4 separate regions of the Homo sapiens genome follow, and all the other regions are linked to region 3. Evidence: promoter capture Hi-C in 16 types of primary human blood cells and fetal thymus (Javierre and others, 2016). All regions are on one chromosome and are shown on one strand. Each heading gives the region's core, a stretch centred on a gene start or on the middle of the fragment in contact. The rest is flanking DNA. Distances are from core to core; before and after follow the strand shown. Region 1 holds the start of TMEM203 (transmembrane protein 203). Region 2 holds the start of DPP7 (dipeptidyl peptidase 7). Region 3 overlaps RABL6 (RAB, member RAS oncogene family like 6). Region 4 holds the start of RNF208 (ring finger protein 208).

What was found. Contacts are between HindIII fragments. The CHiCAGO score rates a contact against its expected background, and 5 or more counts as called.
Region 1: a contact is called between the fragment with the promoter of TMEM203 here and a fragment that was not itself captured in region 3, in 1 of 17 cell types (M2 macrophages). The highest score is 5.2, in M2 macrophages.
Region 2: a contact is called between the fragment with the promoter of DPP7 here and a fragment that was not itself captured in region 3, in 3 of 17 cell types (non-activated CD4 T cells, total CD8 T cells and naive B cells). The highest score is 5.4, in non-activated CD4 T cells.
Region 4: a contact is called between the fragment with the promoter of RNF208 here and a fragment that was not itself captured in region 3, in 3 of 17 cell types (naive B cells, total B cells and non-activated CD4 T cells). The highest score is 7.4, in naive B cells.

The regions. Positions count from the first base shown.
Region 1 is chr9:137,204,282-137,207,330 of GRCh38, forward strand. It overlaps TMEM203 (transmembrane protein 203), which reads right to left and starts at 1,367. Exons shown (of 1, transcript NM_053045.2): 1 at 1-1,367. The coding sequence starts at 1,133. The coding sequence ends at 723. NDOR1 (NADPH dependent diflavin oxidoreductase 1) reads left to right here and starts at 1,419. Exons shown (of 14, transcript NM_014434.4): 1 at 1,419-1,631; 2 at 1,951-2,028. The coding sequence starts at 1,497. RefSeq lists a silencer at 1,123-1,382. The HindIII fragment of the contact is 6,239 bases long and covers 1-3,049 here.
Region 2 is chr9:137,113,315-137,116,288 of GRCh38, forward strand. It overlaps DPP7 (dipeptidyl peptidase 7), which reads right to left and starts at 1,419. Exons shown (of 13, transcript NM_013379.3): 1 at 1,333-1,419; 2 at 1,149-1,262; 3 at 929-1,068; 4 at 551-714; 5 at 47-182. The coding sequence starts at 1,399. It overlaps LOC124902314 (a long non-coding RNA gene), which reads left to right and starts at 1,485. Exons shown (of 2, transcript XR_007061874.1): 1 at 1,485-2,974. RefSeq lists silencers at 1,115-1,264, 1,295-1,644. The HindIII fragment of the contact is 32,578 bases long and covers 1-2,974 here.
Region 3 is chr9:136,812,684-136,815,775 of GRCh38, forward strand. All of the region lies in intron 1 of RABL6 (RAB, member RAS oncogene family like 6), which reads left to right. It also overlaps the pseudogene NCLP1. Among named protein-coding and RNA genes, the nearest start is that of CCDC183-AS1, 5.4 kb to the left of the region's middle. The HindIII fragment of the contact is 2,107 bases long and covers 209-2,315 here.
Region 4 is chr9:137,220,782-137,223,732 of GRCh38, forward strand. It overlaps RNF208 (ring finger protein 208), which reads right to left and starts at 1,459. Exons shown (of 2, transcript NM_031297.7): 1 at 1,208-1,459; 2 at 1-957. The coding sequence starts at 431. RefSeq lists silencers at 1,012-1,061, 2,002-2,051, 2,362-2,711. The HindIII fragment of the contact is 9,789 bases long and covers 1-2,951 here.

The DNA.
Region 1 (3,049 bases), core at 117-2,616, 390 kb after region 3:
GTGCTAAGAGTGCCAGCCCAAGGTGGTCAAAAGTCCACAAAACTGCAGTCTTTGCTGGGATAGTAAGCCAAGCAGTGCCTGGACAGCAGAGTTCTTTTCTTGGGCAACAGATAACCAGACAGGACTCTAATCGTGCTCTTATTCAACATTCTTCTGTCTCTGCCTAGACTGGAATAAAAAGCCAATCTCTCTCGTGGCACAGGGAAGGAGATACAAGCTCGTTTACATGTGATAGATCTAACAAAGGCATCTACCGAAGTCTGGTCTGGATAGACGGCACAGGGAGCTCTTAGGTCAGCGCTGCTGGTTGGAGGACATTCCTGAGTCCAGCTTTGCAGCCTTTGTGCAACAGTACTTTCCCAGGATCCACAGGAAATACTCAGAGTCCACCTGGACATTTTACTTATATTCAGTTTCCAAGTGTCAGAGGGGTTCAGGACTGTCTGGCCTGGGGGGCCTCCTCATGACCTCAATTCAGGATTATCTACTCAAAGCATTAAACAAAAGGAAATACATTTTCAGGATGAAGGCTGCTCTTTTAAGCCCTGCTGAAGAAACCATTTCAAACAGGATTGGAATAGGGAAACCCGGCACTCAGCTCGGCGCAAGCCGGCGGTGCCTTCAGACTAGAGAGCCTCTCCTCCGGTGCGCTGCAAGTAGGGCCTCGGCTCGAGGTCAACATTCTAGTTGTCCAGCGCTCCCTCTCCGGCACCTCGGTGAGGCTAGTTGACCCGACAGGCGCGGATCATGAGCAGCTGCAGGAGAATGAAGAGCGGGGACGTAATGAGGCCGAACCAGAGCTCCCGAGTCTGCTCCGCCAGCTTCTGGCACAACAGCATCTCGAAGACGAACTTGAGACTCAGGACCGTAAGTACCCAGAAAAGGCGGAGCACCGCCAGCCGCTTCTCTCCATCCTGGAAGAGGCGCACGGACACGATGGTGGTGAAGTAGGTGCTGAGCCCGTCAGCGGCGAAGAAAGGCACGAACACGTTCCACCAGGAGAGGCCCGGGACCAGGCCATCCACACGCAGTGCCAGCAGCACAGAGAACACCAACAGGGCCAGCAGGTGCACGAAGATCTCGAAGGTGGCGAAGCCTAGCCACTGCACCAGCTCCCGGAGCGAGAAGAGCATCGCGCCCGTTGAGCGCGGGCCGGGGCCCGGCCGAGCGTGCCACCCGCGGGGCTGCGTCTCCTCTCCCCGTGGCCCTCGCCCGCGCCTGCCGCCGCTGCTGCGAGCGAGAGGCAGCGAGCGGCCCCGCCAGCCCCAGCCCTCGGCCCTGATGCGCCGGCAATCCCCCGGCCCCGACCCGGGACTCAACCCTGGCCGCCCGTGAACGCCCGCCTCGATCGGACGCCATGCCCCCACAGGGCGCGTCCCTAGTGCGTCACTTCCGGTCGACGGCGGAAGGCGGAAGGCGGAGCGGTCCCTGCAACCCGGCCGGCGGGAACTGCCTTCTAGTTTTTAGTCTCAGACCAGACCACCGGGCGCACCCCGATGCCGAGCCCGCAGCTTCTGGTGCTCTTCGGCAGCCAGACAGGCACGGCTCAGGATGTGTCGGAGAGACTGGGTCGCGAGGCCCGGCGCCGGCGGCTTGGCTGCCGGGTGCAGGCCCTGGACTCCTACCCGGTGGTGAGGGCTCGCTAGGGCCTCGGCGTGGGGGACGAGCAGGCCTGGCGTGCCCGCCTCGCGGGGTCATCGACCCAAAAGGCGTCGCATTTTCTCTGAGAGCGGGTCTTTCCCTTATGGCGGATTTAGGGAAGGAGGTTTGGGAAGGGGAGTTCAGTTTAGCACCTGGAGGAGGTTGGAACCTGAAAGAGAAGACGGTCTGGCTGCTCACATAAATCCCTCTGCCCTGTCAGCCTGAGTAAAGGAGAAGGGGGTCAAGTTTTGGGAAGGACGCCCGGTCCTTACAGCCGGAGGTCTTACGTGTGTGTGTCTTTTTGTTGAGGTGAATCTGATTAACGAGCCCCTGGTGATATTTGTTTGTGCAACTACAGGCCAAGGAGACCCCCCTGACAACATGAAGGTAAGGCTGGCCTGATGTGGCTCCTCAGATCCCTGCCCTCGACCCTCACCCCGTTTTCATTGCCTGGCGTCTAGGTGCAGTAAATAGCTCTCCTTTATCTCATGCACCTTCAGAGGTGGATTTGAGAGAACGTCCGTGAGTGGGGCTGGGGGCTCCGGTTGCCCTCTCTAATAAACTCGTCGTAGCCACCAAATAGCCTTATTATCCGTTTTAACCTTTCTTATTTTTCCAGGGCTATCTATATGTGCATCTAGTCTGGGTCTTGTGTGTATTTCTAGACTGTATGACCCTCAGGGAACGTTGCTGAATTCTCTGACCATCTTTTAAGCACATATTCTATTCTTGGCACAGTCTGGTGCTGGGGATCCAGCTGTGAACCCAGCAGCCATATTTCCATCCTGGCAGAGTTCACACTGTAGCAGAAGCAGCTAACGGGCAATGACAGTGCCAGCAAACACCTGCTGCTGGGGAAAGTAGCATATGTCACAGGAGCACTGATAAGGGGCATCGAGCCTTATCTCACCCAACCTTGGGGCCCAGGCAGAGGTTTCTGGAAGAAAAGAGTGTAAGCTGAGTCACGGAAGGATGCGTGAGGGCTAGTCAGGCACCGAGGAAGAAGGAGCAGTCAGCGCAGAGGAAAAAGATGATTTGGTTTGTGTGAAAAGTGGAAAGCAGCTCAGGGTGGCCAAGCTGAGGAGTACACTGGGGCAAGAGGGGAGGAGAAGAGAGGCAGGAAGCCAGGCCCAGTCCAAAGAGCCTGAGTAACCACAGCAAGGCAGATGGGCTTGAAATGAAGGGTTGTCGGAACTGTAGGGGTGACACAGTCATGTTCCTAAGCTAGCAAAACCGCACTGGTCTGCAGGACAGCAGGAATAATGCCATGAGATGCACAGGACAGGCAGCAGATGCTACCGATCTGAGCTGAAGTGGTGGCAGAAGATAGAAGTGGACACATTGCAGTGGTGTCAGGAAGAGAGAGTCCCCGGGACATGGAACGGACCCAATAGGTCAAGCAGAATCG
Region 2 (2,974 bases), core at 169-2,668, 300 kb after region 3:
AGCTGCTGTCCCTTAGGGGGCCTGGAGGACCCCAAGCCTCACTCACCGCCGTGACGTCCCGGAAGAACTGGTTGGAGTCGCCGAGGCCTGCCACAGCTAGAACGGGCGCGCTGGCCGCCAGCGCCCCCGCCACCAGGTGGGGATACTTCATCCTCAGGTAGGCACTGAGCATCCCCCCATAACTGGGTGAGGGACACAGGGTTAGGGCTGCTGCCCCCAACACCCCATTTCCTCTTTTCCTCCTCAGGGGCCCACAGGTGCCACAAGGAGGACGACACTTCTGAGACCCACAAATTCCAACCCTGGGCCAGGTGCGGGTGCAGCTCTCACTGGGAAAGGCCGCTAGTGTGGCCGCACATCCAAGCTGAGCAGGTGGCTGGGAGGACAGGTGGGAGGGCTTCCTGGGGGAGGCAACACTAAGCCTGGAACCACTGCCTGAGGCCTTACGAAAAGGCAGCGGTGGGAGTCAGAGGGGAGTGGGGAGAAGGGCTGGGGGCGCTGGGTCGGGGCAGGGGAGGGAGGGGGTGCGGAGGCCGGGGGAGGCGCCCACCTTCCACCGAAGGCGATGGCGGGGGCATCCTGGGCCCCGAGGTCGCGTCGTAGCGCGCGGAGCAGCTCTGCGAAGTCGGCCAGGGCCTGCTCCACCGTCAGCAGCTCCGTGTGCCCGCGCTGCGTGGACTGCGCACCGAACGGCAGCGACTTCCCGTAGTAGCGCTGGGGGAACGTGCCATTGAGCCCGGCCCCGCGACCCCGCCCGGCACCCGCGTGCCCCGCGACCCCCGCCCGCGACCCCGCCCGGCACCCGCGTGCCCCGCGACCCCCGCCCGCGACCCCGCCCGGCACCCGCGTGCCCCGCGACCCCCGCCCGCGACCCCGCCCGGCACCCACGTGCCCCGCGACCCCGCCCGCGACCCCGCCCGGCACCCACGTGCTCCGCGAAGACCAGTAGAGCCCCCCGCTCGGCCGCCAGCTCCGCGACGAAGGCCGAGTTGTTGGCGAAGGCCCACACGTCGCCCTCGTTCCCAGTGTAGAAGAAGATGGGCCCCTCGCCCCGGACCCAGAACCTGTCTGTGGGGAGGGCGGATGAGGCGAGGGTGCCGGGGGGCGGCGGGACGGCGGGGGCGGCCGGGCCGGGGCCGGGGTCTCACCCGACACCAGGAAGCGCTGAGGGAAGGTCTTGTTGCCGAAGCGCTCGAAGTTGAAGTGGTCCAGACGCTGCTGGAAGAAGCGCTCCTGGAAGCCGGGGTCCGGGGCCCTGCGGGCTGTGGGGGGACGCGAACCTCAGAGGCGGGGCCGGGACCGGGGAATGGGCCGGGGGGCGCCGCCACTCACCCCCCGCCTGGAGGCCGCGCAGCCCGAGCGCCAGCAGCAGGACCGGGGCCCAGGGAGCGGAGCCCATGTCGCCTTCCGCGGGCGCCCGTCACGTGGGCGGGGTCACGGGGCCGCCAGGGCGCGCTCCTCCCTCCAGGCCCCACGTGTTTCGGGCGCCCGCGGTCCCCACGGAGACCGTCGCTGCTTCAGCGCCGCGCCGGGGCTGTGCCCCCCAACACCCCGCGCCCCGCGGCCGCTGCCCAGGGGTCCTTCCCGGGCACGGCGCGGGGAAGCAGAGGGCCCCCGGGCCATCTCCGCGGCCTCCCGCCCCACTGGCTCGTCCTCCTACCGCGGCCCCATCCGGAGCTGCGCTAGGGCGAGTCCCTGCTGCGCCCGCCAAGCCTCCCCAGCACTTGCTCCTGGCAGGTGCCCCACTCCAAGGCAGGGCCGGGAGAGTGGGGGCCGTTCTGCTGCCCTAAGGGCGGGAGGGAGAGGGTCCCAAACAGAGTGCTGGCCCCCCGAAGAAAGCAACCCAGGGTTTGTCCAAGCGATAACGGGCTGGGCTTGGCGGGGCGGGGCCTCGCAGCGGGCAGGAGTGTGGGGTGCCCCTGGAGCGTCTGGGCAGGGCCGGGATGTGGCCGGGTAGCTCCCAAGAGCTGGGAATCGCCACCTGCCCTTCCGACTGGCACCCAGTGTGCCCACACAGCCCTGCAGGGACAAGGGGGGACCAGAGGCCTCTGCTGGGAGCTGGGGCCTCCTCCCTGGGGAGCACCCAGAGGATGGAAGAAGTCACCTTTCCCCAGCGTCCAGTTCAGGGAGTGGGTGAGGGGGCCGTAGTGGTGGGTGCCAGACTAGCTACGTGGAGTCCTGCTGGGGATGTACATGGGCCGCTAGCCAGGCCCAGAACAGGTGCAGGGGCAGCAGGGGCTCAGCTACAGAGAGTTACCCTGTCCTTCTCCCAAGACTACCCTCGGCCAGCATGACCCTGCCCTGCCCATCCTGTGTGGGGCTGAGCGGAGAAGACCGGCCACTTCCACAGCCCCTCACGCCATGGCCCTCCCGTGCCTCACACAGAGGCACCCCCCATGGTGGGTGACTGGTGGCTGGGGCCCTCAGCATGGTGGCAGTGACCATCACGTCACACTGCAACACGAGGTCATCCAGGGCCACACACCGTCCCCACCACGGCCCTCACATCTGGGCCCTGTCCCATCCCTACGCAGTTCCTGGGGCTGCCTGCCGGGGCCCCCGCAGGACGGGGGTGAGGACAAACAGCAGACCTCCTTGGATGTGGAGGTACCCCACGGCGTCCCCCACCCCACACCTCTGCTCCTTTGGCTCCCTCGGGTGCCTTAGGTGGCCAGAACTCCACCAGCAACCCTCACCCAGGACCGCAGCTCTGGAGACGCCAGCTAGGCCGAGAGCTGGCCAGCTCCCCAAGCACACCAGAGCCTGGAGACGCTCCAGGCTTGGCTGGGCCCACAGAGGGGCCAGAGCCTCAGGGAGGGCTCCAGGAGCAGGGTTTCCAAGGAAGCCACTTTCCCTCTTGTCCACGGCCCAGGCATTGATGCCCCTCTGGGCAGCAGCCAGGGCCTCCCAAGCCGGGAAGGGTGGGCATGGGGCTACCCAGCATGGCTCTGCCAGGGGTGAGGGTGGCCACAGT
Region 3 (3,092 bases), core at 12-2,511:
GAATGTCCTCAGAGAGCTCTGTCATTGATCAGGTAACGGAATAAAAACCCCAGCGTCCTTTCTTTCAAATGGGAGAGGGAAAGACAAAGGGACAGAAGCCGTTCAAACTTTGTCTTCTTTCCTTGTGGCTTGTGGTCACCTCTGCCTCCCCAGAAGCTGCCTCGCCCACCAAAGCCTTCCTGGCTTCTGCCACCACCTCATCCTCCAAAGCTTCCTCTACCTCCATCACAACCCCAAAGCCACCTTCGCCCTTAGGTTTGGCCCAGTCCAAGTTACCTTTGTTTCCCTCAATTTCACCATCTTCCGCGGCCTCCTTGGCGCTTTTGGCATCCTCCTCACTGTTGCCATCTACAGAGCCAAAGCCTTTGGGGCACCCGGTTTCCTGGTTGGTGACTACCCTTGCCCAACAAAGCTGTCGAATGACTAAAGCCTCTTCAGTGGTGTCCTCAGACAGGCCTTTGACAGACAGTTTTAGATGGCTGGCTCCTGGCATCAGGTGGTCCTTGCAACTCCAGCCTGATTGCCCTGCCCCCAGTTTCCCTTTTATTACAGGAATTTAAAGCTGCTTTATCATCTTCAAATGAAGCGAACTGTAAGTGCATGCACACCCTTTAGATTTGCCATTTTGGTTCTGGGGCACTTTGATAAAAGTTGCCTTGTCTCAGATTCTTTCTGAAGAGTTTCTTCTGTTGCACTGTAGGAGAGGTTGCTTAAACCAGAGTTTTTGATTCACCCCTCCAAGTGGTCTCTCTAGTCTTGATTTAGACCTTTCTCTCCATGATAGTGCAGGGAAATAGATCGGCCATCCATCTCTGTTCCCTGCGTTTCTTCAGAAGTTTTCTCTGCATTAGCTTCTGTCTTAACCTCAATATAAGCAGTCCCTTTACTCTTCCCATCCTTGCTGACTAATCCAATCTCCACAGCATCTTCAAACACTTTTTTGTTTTTTGAGCCAGAGTCTCGCTCTGTTGCCCAGGCTGGAGTGCAGTGGCCGTGATCTCAGCTCACTGCAAGCTCCACCTCCCAAGTTTGCGCCATTTTCCTGCCTCAGCCTCCCGAGTAGCTGGGACTACAGGCACCCGTCACCACACCCAGCTAATTTTTTGTATTTTTAGTAGAGACAGGGTTTCACCGTGTTAGCCAGGATGGTCTTGATCTCCTGACCTCGTGATCTGCCTGCCTTGGCCTCCCAAAGTGCTGGGATTACAGGTGTGAGCCACTGCGCCACTGCGCCCAGCCAAAACACTTGTAATTCATCCTGAGTGACTTTGTAAGGGAGATTTGTAGCCAAAAGTATTCTCACATCTTGCTCTTTCTTACTGTCTTTTCCTTTTGGTTTCTCTAGTTTAATTTCATTGCCAAAGTCTTTCAAACCAGCGAGTTCCAAGGCTCTTTCCAGGTCTTCAGCAGCTTGAAAATCCACATAGTCAGATTTCCTTGTCATACCCATTCTGACATCCACAACAGCAAGATCATTTTTAGCAAAAATATCATGGATACTAGTTTTTGTTTTTCTTTCTTTTTCGAGACAGGGTCTTGCTCTGTTACCCAGGCTGGAGTGCAATGGTGCTCACTGCAGCTTCCACCTCCCGGGTTCAAGTGATTCTCCTGCCTCAGCCTCCCCAGTAGCTGGGACTACAGGCACGCACCACTACGCCCGGCTAATTTTTGTATTTTTAGTAGAGACAGGGTTTCATTATGTTGGCCAGGCTGGTCTCAAACTCCTGACCTTGTGATCTGTCCACCTCAGCCTCCCAAAGTGCTGGGATTACAGGCGTGAGCCACCAGGCCTGGCCCATGGATACTAGTTTTTAACTCAGGAGCAGACTTGTTAAAGTTCAGGTTTCCAACAAAGATTGAAAGACGTTCCAGCCTGGCCAACATGGTGAAACCCCGTCTCTACTAAAAATACAAAAATTAGCCGGGTGGTAGTGGTACACGCCTGTAATCCCAGCTACTCAGGAGGCTGAAGCAGGAGAATCACTTGAGCCTGGCAGGTGAAGGTTGCAGTGAGCCAAGATTGCGCCACTGCAGTCCAACCTGGGCGAGAGAGTGAGACCCTGTCTTAAAAAAAAAAAAAAGGCACAGTTGGTTCTGTGCTTCTCACTCTCCACTTTGTGTTTCTTGGCTTCAGAAGCTGCTGTTTGGTCATTTCCTTCATTTTCCAGGTGCTTCTTTGACAGACCCTTCCTCCTCTTTGTCGTCTTCATCACTTCATCCTCTTCATCATCGTCACCCTCGTCCTTGTCCTCATCATCCTCTTCATCTTCATTCCCAGCCATCCTCTTGGCTTTCCCAGGAACAGCATTTGTAGAAGCTTTCTTTCCTTTGGCTGGTGTTGTTTCCATAGGTGCTGCTTCAGAGCCATCTTCCTCAGCATCGTCCTCATCGTCCTCGTCCTCATCCCCTGAGGCAGGGGCACCCGCTGCTGCCTTCATCACTGCTGGTTCAGAGTCATCCTCCTCCTCATCGCTGTCTTCCTTCTTGGCGTTCTTGCCGTTCTTTGCCCCCTTGGCTGGGGTGTCCCTTCTTGCCAGGAGCTGCTGCCAGTGCTTTGCCTGCTATGGCTCCCTTCTTGGCAGGTGTGGCGACTGCTTTGCCTGGAGTGACAGTTGCTTTCTTGGTGGGTGTGGCACCTGCAGCCTTTTTTGTTCGGGAAACTGTCACCTTCTTGGCTGGGGTTGCAGCAGCCTTCTTGCCTTTCTCCTGAGGTGTGACAGTCTCTTCTCCACAGCTGTCATCTTCTTCATCTTCTGACATTTCCTCATCTTCACTTCCTCCTTCTGCCTCCTTTGGGGGAGCAGCCATTTTCTTGGGGTCACCTTGGTTTTTACCTGCCTCGACACCAAGTAGTCTGAAGCTGCTGAGGATGGGAAATCTTTGCAGGGTGCAGAGTGGGAGAGGAGCAAGGTGTGGCTGACACCAGCTGCAGCACAGGCTGTCAGGGTGGGGAGGTGGCTGGGCCCTTGTAATGGGCCCAGGAGATGCTGCTGGCACTGTGAGAGGGCCTGGTTAGGAGTTAAACCTTCATGCATCTGAGATAAATCATAAGCTCTTCTTGGTATGAAAATGTAAGAAAATTATTCCATATT
Region 4 (2,951 bases), core at 209-2,708, 410 kb after region 3:
GGGCACTCCAGGGGCTCGCCTGCCGCCGCCGAAGAAGCCGCCGAGGCCGAGGGGCCAGGCCGAATCACGTACTGATTCACAATGACCTCATCCTCTGGGGCCACGCGGGGAAAGCCCAGCTCCGAGCTTCCCTTACGGGGCCGCCGTGGCAGTGGCGGGGTATGGGGTGCCCCTTCCAAGGCAGGCATGTCCCCCCCACAGGCCTGGTTGACAATGATCTCTGTGTCTGAGGGCCAGGCACGCTTGGGTGCCAGAGTTGGGGTGGGCCGGGGAGCAGGCGGGAAGCAGGGGGCAGCCGGTAGCTCAGGGAACTTTTCAGGGTGGACAATCTTCATGGCCTCCATCTTGAGGATGACATGGGGACCCTTCAGGCAGGACATGAGGAGGCCCGGCCAGCCACTGCCCGCCTCGGGCCCGGGGTCAGAGGGCATCCGGCTGTCTCCAGTCAGACTGGATGTTCGGGTGGGTGGGGGCGTTGTGTGGGGCTGGGGGGCAGGTGACAGGGCAGCATCCTGGTCCCGCCAGGCCTGGGGGGGGCCCCGGACGGCCCGTGGACTCCTAGGGACAGCCGGCGAGAGTTGGGGGTGCAGGGCCCCCCCCAGTGGCCACAGTGGCTTCTCTGGTCCAGTCCTGGGAGGAGGAGGAAGGGGTGGGGGAGGGGGAGGCAGGCGGGGGCAGGGAGGGGTGGGAGGCTGCCCTGGGCTGGGGGTCTGGCCCAGGGTCTCACCCAGGGTCTCTGGCTGCTGAGGCTGGCGAGGGGGCGCGGGGGGGGCTCCCCCTGCAGCCGAGGTCAGCAGGCCGCGGGCCGGGACATCGGGGCAGGCAGGGGCTGGGTGGGCCCCATGGCTCCAGGACAGGGCGCCCAGGGAAGGCAGCTAGCCGAAGCGCTGGCTGCAGGAGGACCGGGGCGGCAGGCTCCGCGGCAGGAGCAGAGGCGAGGCCTGGGCCAGGCCTGAGCTGCAGGTGAGAGACGGCATGAGGGCAGTGCCCCGGCCACCCCCACCCTAGCCCTCGCCCTGCACAAAGGACCGGGCGCCCGACCTCTGACCCTGACCTCAGCCGTGGGATCCCGACCTCCGCGGGCCTCAGAACCCAACCCCCTCCCCGGTCCCCGCCTCCAAGGCCAGACGCACCTTCCCGAGGGCCGACCCCCGTCGCGTGGGGAGGGGCGCTGAGTCCGCCCCCGGCCCCCGCCCCCTGCGCTCACCTGCCCCAGCCTGGCGTCCCGGCCGCGCGCCGCCGCCGCAGAGGTTGTCTCAAAGGCAGGCCCGGACGCGGCGCCCGCGCCTCGGCCCGGCAGCTCGGGGGGCTCCGGCGGCTCCGGCGGCGGCCGCAGCGACCTCAGGCGATGGCGGGGCCCGGGCGGCACCGAGGGGCGCGGGCGCGGGCGTGGGGCGCGGGGCGCGGGTTTCGGCACGGCGGCGACGGCGGCAGGTGCGTGCGGAGCGTGGCGCGCTCTGCGGCGGAGGCGCGGGGACCGCAGTGCGCGCGGCGCCCGCCCGCGCCCGCAGCGCCACCCCCCGTCTGGGGACCCGCGCGGGGTCCGCGGGGCGGGGCCAGCCTCCCGGCCGCCCCTCGGTCCGCTCCCGGCGTCGCTCTCGCCCGCGGACTGCGTGGGGGGCAGGACCCCCGCGTCGCCCCCAGTTCTCTCCAGGCTGATCCTGGGTCCTGGTCAAGCCCCCGCCCCCCCAGATTCAGGAGGAGAATCCGGCTGTTCTCCTCCCTCACAGTAGGAGGCCTCAGGACTCTGGAGTGAGAGGGAGGGGACCTGCGCGGAGGATCCCAGGGGAGCTGGTTCCAGGGCCCACCGGTGCCTTCCCCCGTCCCCGGCCCCCCGCCCCATGGGAAGGCCCCGAGTCCTCCAGCTCCGCCTGTGCCCGGTGCCGTAGCTCAGATAGATCGCTGTGACTCTAAGGGGCAAGAGCGGGGCGGGCGGAGCGGATCAGAAGGCCGAGGCCGGTGGACGGACGGGTCCGGTGGGAGTGCGCGAAGGACAGGCTGGCAGCCCAGTGCGGGGTGGAGGCGGCCCTGAGGACCGCACCTGCCCGGACAGGGTGGCCCCTGGCACTCCAGCGCGCAGGCCCGGGCCTCTCCGCTTCCTCACCCGGGGCTTCCCTGCCCTCCTGGGTCCGCCTTCTGCCTGTGGAGCCCTCGGGCTTGCTGGTCACCGTGAGGCAGGGGACCAGGGCTTCGAGGGCCTCCGCTGCCACGCTGTGACCAGCTCTGGCCCCGCACCTGGCCCTGGACATCCTGGCCTCCTTCAGCTCCTCTCTCCGCTGGACTGGCCAGACCGCACCTGCTCTAGGCAGAGCCCCAGGGCCTGCAGAGTGCTGAGCCCAGAGGGGACGGTGCCGCTGGTGCGGGAGCTCGCGTGGGCAAAACAGGCTGGAGGAGCAGCCCTGCGCATAGGGTCTGGCTTGGCCCCTCTGTGGGGCCTCGGGCGAGTGTCACTCAGAAGAGCAATAGGGAGAGGTGTGCGGGTGACAGGGGCGCTGCTGGAGGGGTCCTTACGGGGCCCTGGCAAGATGGTGGGGCAACTGAGGCAGCCTGGGCCTGGGGAGGGCCGGGAGCCCAGCTCCGCCGCAGACTCTGCTCACCGACCCGGCGTGCGCCCGAGGAAGCACCAGGCCGCAGGCCCCGCCCCCTCAGCGAGACCCCACCCCGTAGGGGATGAGATCCCGCCCCCGCCACGAGGCCCCGCCCCCCAGGCCAGGCCTTTTCAGACCCGCCATTCAGAGCTGGAGAACCCCAAGCCGAGTATTGGTCACATCCGAACCGGGTCTTTCGGGAAACCCCGGAGCGCGTGGGCTTCTGGGCAATAATATTTCCACGGCCGGTTCCTGCCTTGTTTGCGCATGCGCCATAGGCGCCACTCAAGTGGCAGGCAGGGAGGTGGGCGGGACTTCCGGCGCCTGCGCAGTGGACTTCCGTCGCCGGCCTCTCAAGTTTTG